2 separate regions of the Homo sapiens genome follow, and region 2 is linked to region 1. Evidence: promoter capture Hi-C in 16 types of primary human blood cells and fetal thymus (Javierre and others, 2016). All regions are on one chromosome and are shown on one strand. The core of a region is centred on a gene start or on the middle of the fragment in contact, and the rest is flanking DNA. Distances in the headings are between cores, read along the strand shown. Region 1 holds the start of COPS3 (COP9 signalosome subunit 3). Region 2 overlaps MPRIP (myosin phosphatase Rho interacting protein).

Evidence for each region. The method cuts DNA at HindIII sites, captures the fragments that hold promoters and counts their contacts. A CHiCAGO score of 5 or more calls a contact.
Region 2: a contact is called between a fragment that was not itself captured here and the fragment with the promoter of COPS3 in region 1, in 1 of 17 cell types (naive CD4 T cells). The highest score is 6.8, in naive CD4 T cells.

The regions. Positions count from the first base shown.
Region 1 is chr17:17,279,476-17,283,145 of GRCh38, reverse strand. COPS3 (COP9 signalosome subunit 3) reads left to right here and starts at 1,900. Exons shown (of 12, transcript NM_003653.4): 1 at 1,900-2,014. The coding sequence starts at 1,960. RefSeq lists enhancers at 1,703-1,802, 2,453-2,512 and a silencer at 2,023-2,262. The HindIII fragment of the contact is 7,073 bases long and covers 1-3,670 here.
Region 2 is chr17:17,141,397-17,145,066 of GRCh38, reverse strand. It overlaps MPRIP (myosin phosphatase Rho interacting protein), which reads right to left. Exons shown (of 24, transcript NM_001364716.4): 8 at 2,302-2,440; 9 at 1,398-1,511. Among named protein-coding and RNA genes, the nearest start is that of PLD6, 63 kb to the left of the region's middle. RefSeq lists enhancers at 2,022-2,563, 2,564-3,106. The HindIII fragment of the contact is 3,518 bases long and covers 119-3,636 here.

The DNA.
Region 1 (3,670 bases), core at 651-3,150:
TGTCTGCAGGAGAGAAGGACCGAAACTGTTTTGTTTTGTTTTGTTTTGTTTGAGTCAGATTCTTGCTCTGTCGCCCATGCTGGAGTGCAGTGGTGCCATCTCGGCTCACTGCAACCTCCACTTCCCGGGTTCAAGAGGTTTTCCCATCTCAGCCTCCCGAGTAGTTGGGACTACAGGTACCCATCACCAAGCCCAGCTAATTTTTGTAGTATTTTTAGTAGAGATGGCTTTTCACCATGTTGGCCAGGCTGGTGTCCAACCCCTGACCTCAAGTGATCCACTTGCTTCAGTCTCCCAAAGTGCTGGATTACAAGCGTGAGAGACTGCACCAGGCCCCAAGACTGTTTTTACTACCACTGTATTTCTAGTGCCTGGTACAACACATTGTAAGTGTCAGTAAACATATGTTGGATAAAATTTTAAAATGCATGTTTATTTTCTCAGTCCCTACTATGCAGCAAATCCTATGCTGGGCCCTAAAGGGGAACCAAGGTTAGTAAGAGAAATGCTTGACCTTAAGGAACTCCATGCCAGTTAGAAGCAATGGATCCGTAAACCAAAAGTATCTGAGACCAGTCTCAATCGAGAAAGTTTATATTGCCAAGGTGAAGGATGCGATGATAACACGGCCTCAGGAGCTCCTCAGGACATGTGCCCAAGGTGCGGGTACAGTTTGGTTTTATACATTTTAGGGAGACATGAGTCATCGATCAATACATGTAAGATGTACGTTGGTTAGGATCGGAAAGACGGGCTAACTCGGGGCAGTGGGGGGCTTCTACCTTATAGGTAGACTTAAAGATTTTTTGATTGGTAATTGGTTGAAAGAGTTATTATCTAAAGACCTGGAAGTAAATAGAAAGAAATATCTGGGTTATGATTATAAGGGGTTGTGGAGACCAAGGTTTTATCATGCAGATGAGGCTTCCAGGTAGCCTGCTATTCAGACAGAATAGATTGTAAATATTTCTTATCAGTCTTGAGTCTACCAGTCTTAAGGTCTCTGTGTTGATGTTTGTGAGGCATGTCTGACTACCACTTCCCATCATGGCCTGAACTAGTTTTTCAGGATAAATTGGAATGTCCTTGGCTTCAGATAGGGTCCACCAGTCAGTTGGGGGGCTTAGACTTTTATTTTTGGTTTACAGATATCACATGGACTATAGAGACACATTTCTGTAACAGAGTAGAAGTGCAACATGAGAAGAACAAAGTGCTTTAGGCGACAAGCGGAGGAGGGAGACATCAATCCCAGATGGGAAAAATCAATTCACTTTCTGTGTGTGGTGTTACTTATTTATTTATTTTTTGCAGGGAAGGGATCGATTCATTCAACGTACACCTTGAATGAATAACTATAGTTCTCCCTACGTCCTATGCACTGTCCTAAGTGTTTTACGTGGTTAAGGACACTAAGATTTTACAGATGGGGAAAACAATGCACACGACAGTCAAGTGACCCGCTCAACGTCACACAGCTACTAAGTGGTAGAAAAGGCAGTTGAACCCAGGCTGCTTGGCTCCAGAGTCTAATATCACGGGGAAAACCTCACGGGAGACGTGGCAACGAAGTTGTGCTTCATTGAAGTATCTGTCCAGGTGGAAAACCGCAGGGCCTCTCTAGCAAAATCCAGAACCAGAAAATACTTGCTTAATTATGAGTTTCCTTCCTTCTTTTGCCCACTATCCCCATTTAACCTGCGGAGGGATTTCAGAAGTGCAGTGAATAAAGATGCAGGGGACTATGGAACACTAATTTCCGGCTACGGCGAATTCAGGCTGTTTCCATGGAAACAGTAACGGGTGGGCAGCTAGGTATAGTCTCGCGGTGCTTGAACCAGCGGAAGTGACGTCGCCGCTCGCGAGGACCTCAGGTGGATCGCCGCGGCCCCTCCTCCCAGAGCGGCAGCCTTTTCCCGCGCGTGCTGCCTTCGCCGCTCGGGCCGCCCGGGGGAAAACATGGCGTCTGCCCTGGAGCAGTTCGTGAACAGTGTCCGACAGCTCTCAGCTCAAGGTAACGCCCTAGGCCGCCGGGCTGGGCATGGGCGGGTACCGGGAACTGGCCTGGATCCCCAGGCGCCAGCACGGACGGCTGGAACAGCCCTTTTAGTCCTGAGACTCTTCTCCGGGGCCGGGCTTGGGGTTGCGGCGTTTAGATCAGGGCAGGATCGAGCGCGGCCGAGTGTAGGCAGCCCCCTCGCGCTCCGCTGTCCTCGCCGGCCGGCCTCCCCTCCCTCGGGCCGCCGGGAGCCCCCTCCCCCCGGCCTGGGCCCCTTCCACCGGGCGCTTTGCTTGACAGTTTGGGGGCGTGACTTCCGCCAGGAGCCATCTCGGGCGACTATTGGTTCCTTCTGTCTCTCTTGCCTTCGGTGATTGGCGCACCGCCATGTCATCTTTGCCGCCGATCCGCAGCTTGCTGACTAGGCCGCCGGGAGCGGGCGGGAGGCGAGTCCGTTCTGGGTGTCTTGGCTCTATGGCTCGCCTCTGCCAGCTCCTCCGCTGCCAGGCGGCGCACGCTCGGGAACCTGTGCGCCTATTTTGGTCCTACAGAATGCTGCGGAAGCTCTCGCTCGTAGGACTCCATTTCTTCTTCTTTGTTTTTTTTTAGCCGAGGCTGGAGTGCAGTGGCGCGATCTCGGCTCACTGCAACCTCAGCCTCCCGGCTTCAAGCGATTCTCCTGTCTCAGCCTCCCGAGTAGCTGAGATTACAGGCGCCCGCCAGCTCACACGGCTTTTTTTTTTTTTGAGACGGAGTCTCACTGTCTCCCAGGCTGGAGTGCAGTGGCGCGGTCTCGGCTCACCTCAACCTTCGCCTTCGAGGTTCAAGCGATTCTCCTGTCTCAGCCTCCCGAGTAGCTGGGATTACAGGCGCCTGCCCGGCTAATTTTTGTATTTTTAGTAGAGACAGGGTTTCACCATGTTGGCCTGGCTGGTCTCGAACCTTGATCTCAGGTGATCCACTGGCCTCGGCCTCCCAAAGTGCTGGGATTACAGGCATGAGCCACCGCGGCCAGCCCACGCGGCTAATTTTTTCGTATTTTTAATAGAGATGGGGTTTTTACCATGTTGGCCAAGCTGGTTTCGAACTCCTCACCTGAAGTGATCCGCCCACCTCGGCCTCCCAAAGTGCTAGGATTACAGGCGTGAGCCACTGCGCCCGGCCAGGACTCCATTTCTAGGGGTAGAATTGTGATGATTTTACTCGCACTTTCCAGGTTGTTTGGTTCATTCATTGCGTATGAATGTACCGAATTCTGGACCTGAAATTCGAATGATTAGATGCTGGCTGTGAAGGCCCTTTTAACTATCCCGTGCTTCAGTTTCTTCGTCTGCAAAATAAGTCCCTAGTTTATGTAGAGTTGTGAAGATTCAATGAGAGAAACCATGTAAAAGCAGTTGGAACAGTGCCTGTCATAAGGGGTGCAATAAATATAGCTGCAAATTATTGTTACCGTCATTAATTGCAAAGTTCTAGGAGCTGCTTGACCTTGGACAAATAACCTTTAATCTCTGAGTCTTTTGCATCTCCATTGTAAAAATGGAGGGGTGCTTTTACCTCACTGGTGTAAGACAAATGGTCTGATATGGAGCTGCACTTAATAAGAATTCTTCCTCTTTTTCCTTTTTATTAATAGAAATGAGGTTCACAGGGAAGGCACAGGCTTGCCTT
Region 2 (3,670 bases), core at 628-3,127, 140 kb after region 1:
CTGTGCAACTGTCCTTGCCGCCAGAGTTATTTGAAGCACCCAATCAAAAGCAACACTGTGAAATTAGGACACCCTACCCCAAGTAGCCCTTAAATAGGGAGGTCCTCTCCTGCAAGCTTGTAGTTGCCATTGCGGCACAGGACCTGAGACGTGGGACTGCCACCTGCCCCCTCTCTGACAGCCTGCTTAGCTTGCAGATCTTTCTTTTTTTTGAGACGGAGTCTCGCTCTGTCGCCAGGCCGGAGTGCAGTGGCGCGATCTCAGCTCACTGCAACCTCCGCCTCCCGGGTTCAAGCGATTCTCCTGCCTCAGCCTCTCAAATAGCTGGGACTACAGGAGCGCGACACCACACCCAGCTAATTTTTGTATTTTTAGTAGAGTCAGTGTTTCACCATGTTGGTCAGGATGGTCTCGATCTCTTGACCTCGTGATCTGCCCACCTCGGCCTCCCAAAGTGCTTGGATTACAGACGTGAGCCACCGTGCCCGGCCTAGCTTGCAGATCTTTAACAAAAACTCGTAATTTCCATATCATGGTTGTGCCATTGAAGCCAAGCCTGCAATCTGACCCCAATGGCAAGGCCTATGCAGGTGGGTTCCCTGCTGGTGTTCTCTGTTGGGGAAGGCGCTCCCAGCTAAGTTAACAGAGAAACAAGGAGTTTTGTTCAAGACACCTGAAGCAAAACCCAGACTGAAGGAAAAACCCAAACCTTACTCCTCCTCACACTCCATGTTACACATCAATCTGTGGTTGGCAGCCCCCAAGCCCTGGGGCAGGCCGGAGGCCCATGGTGAGCTGCTGTGCAGGCAGCAAGGAGGAGACAAGAGGCAGTGAGCAGGCCCCAGGCTCCCCTGGAGGCTGAAGACAGAGCGGGTAGGAGCTGGGTCAGCATGCTGAGTTGGCCTTGCTCCTGTACCCTGACCACTCCTTCCGCACCTCTGTTGTCATAGCTCTGAGGCCCATGGAGAACCTGGTGCAAGGCCTGCTCTTCCACTTGAGGCATGACACGGAGAACGAGACAAGCTCCAGCAAGACGTGGCCTCTGCCTCCGAAGTGCCACAAAAAGCAATGCCCAAAGCCAGAGGAGCGGAGGGTCCCTGCTGCAGCCCTGCCGCCTAGAGTCGGGAGTCTGCCTAGCCCGAGGTGGCCTCCTCCGCAGGGCCTCCTCCCAGAGCTCAGGATGCCATGGAGCCCTTGGTTCTGCTGGGACCAGAAAAGGGAAGAAACAGAATCTGTGTTCGACGGCCTGTGGGTCGGTGGGTGGGGGTGCTCACGGACACGAGGGCCTGTGCACAGAGGGACAGCTGGCATGGACGCATAGACAGAAACAGACAGCGCCTCAGAGTGACCAGAAGCAGAGGAGCACGGCCTCCGGAGGACGCGGCGCCTGGGCTCACCGTCACGGAGGGCTCCGTGGACCTCCTGTCCAGTGACTTGGCTCTTCGGTGTGGAGACAGGGGGGAAGCCGAGGCGTCTGGGAGAGGAGCTGGGGGGGCTTCATTGGTGAAGTCCTGTGGCAGAGAGCAGCCGCTGGTCAGTGCAGCCCAGGGCAATGTGGGCATGTGAGGGACGAGCTGGTGCTGTCCACCCCTCCAAGAGCCGCCAGGGCCTTGCTCCTGGCGAGGGGCAGTGATCTGCCTAGCCACCATAGCAAGTCTGCAGCAGGGCCAGGACAGGACCCGGGTCCTGAGATGCCCTGGTTGATAGAGCAGCCTTTTCTTTTGGATTCCCAGTCACTGTCACTTTCCTGGCCCCACCCCATCCTCCAGCTTCTCTGGGTCACAGAAGGAAGAGCCCTGGGCTCTGTGGTGGCAGGTGGCAAGCTGTGGGCCAGACAGTAGGCACTAGGCACCTTGTGAACAAGAGAGAAGCCAGGAGAAGATGAGCTTAGACTTGGCCGGCTACAAAAGCAGCAGGCGGGTGCCCAGGAGGATTTCAGAAGCCGAGTCTACCTTGGGCTGAGTGGAGAAACGAGGGGTGTAGTTGTACTGAAAGAAAGAGTTAGGAAGGTGTGACATTCAGCCTTGTTGCTGGGCTGTCTCAGATAGGAAGAGAGTGATCCTAATTAAATCTGGGATCTAAAATGCATGAGAATATCCTTCAGCAGAGACGGAGAAGGCTCTGATATGAAGCTGCAGGAGACAGGCCTGCTCTCAAGAAGTCACTATGCAGAGGAGGTGGTTGGAGAGAAGCCTGGCAGGAGCACATCCCAGGCCTGTGTGGAGGGGACTTGGCGCATGGGGTGCATGCTGACCCGCCCCCGAGCCACCCCTGAGGTGCTGCCCAGCCCCAGGAGCTCACCCGCTTCCTAGGGAACGCCCTCTTCTCGCTGCGGCCCTGGCGTGTGTCGCTGGATGGTGAGGGCCCCACTGCATTGGTCTCCATGTGCTCTGCCTTCTCAATGTCCAAGGCCTCAAACTTTTCAATCACCTGGGACCTCCTGCAAGAGAGGACACGAGGCCCTGAGGTGGCAGTGAGGTGAGCTGTGAGGTGGCAGTGAGCCGACTCCTCCCATGCCCGGCCTGGCCCGGGCCTGATTCCCCTCAGGCTTGCACAGCACCGAGGTTGTCTAGACACGTGCTCAGCTGACCCGAGCTCTGCCTGCACCCCTCCACGGCCCTCCCTCCCATCAGGCCTGCGCTTGCCCCTACCCTCTGCCCCCGCGCTAGAGGCCCTGCAGGCTCTGTGGTGCTGACCCACTCGGCATTCACACAGCTTGGCACCCGGCAGCCTCTCCTGAGCCACAGACATGATCAAAAGGCAACCACCACCACGGAAGGCAGCCTCCATTCTCATTGCATCCCTCATGGATCACAGTGCACCCCCCACCCCAAAATTTAGCAAGGAAGAGGCCCAGGAATTAACATTGTTTCTGCCAACAGTAAAAGGAATCAAAGACCAAATTAAAACAAAAACAAAGCAGGCTGATTTCATGTGAAAGGGCTGGCGGCCTCCTCAGGCTGTCTACGGCCGGAGACGGAGCTTAGATGGGGGCGAAGCGGGTGGAGGAGGCGCAGCGCCACCCAGCGGCACAGCAGGAGAGCGCAGAGGCAAGACCTGAAAGAAAACAAGGCTGGGAAATGAATACATGGAAGAGCGCTGCTTTTTCAAATCAAATAATGGTGAACCAAAATTATCCAAAGAATTAAAGAAGCAAAAACCCAAGGTAATCACTGAAGAGGGAGAGAGACCATGATTGTCCTCCAGCTGCAAGAAGTCACCCTGGTGGGGTCAGAGGTGGGGGACGCACCAGCTGAGGCTCAGCTCACAGGGCCGGGCCTGTTCTCCCAGGGGCACCTAAGTTACCTGGCGGGGAGGGTGTCACTGCTGCTCTGGACAAGAGGATAAGAACCCAGAGGAAGTGGGTGAAGGGCTCCCAAGCCTGGAAGCCTAATTATCTCCACAAGGAAGAGAGGAAACAAGATCAATTCCTGAGACCCCACCTCCCCCAAGAGGCCAGCTGCTTCTCAGGGAGTGCGAGGGAAAACTGGCTGCCTAAGGCGTCTTCACCCCCGGAGAGAGGAGGGCGAGGGCCCCGGGCTCTGCTTCCTCCCTGCGCTTAGACACAAAGTGTCTTCCTCAGCTCAGCTTCCTCCCTGTGCTTAGACACAAAGTGTCTTCCTCAGGAAAGAAGCTTGTGCCGGGCCAGCCTGCTAGAACCAGCAGCGGA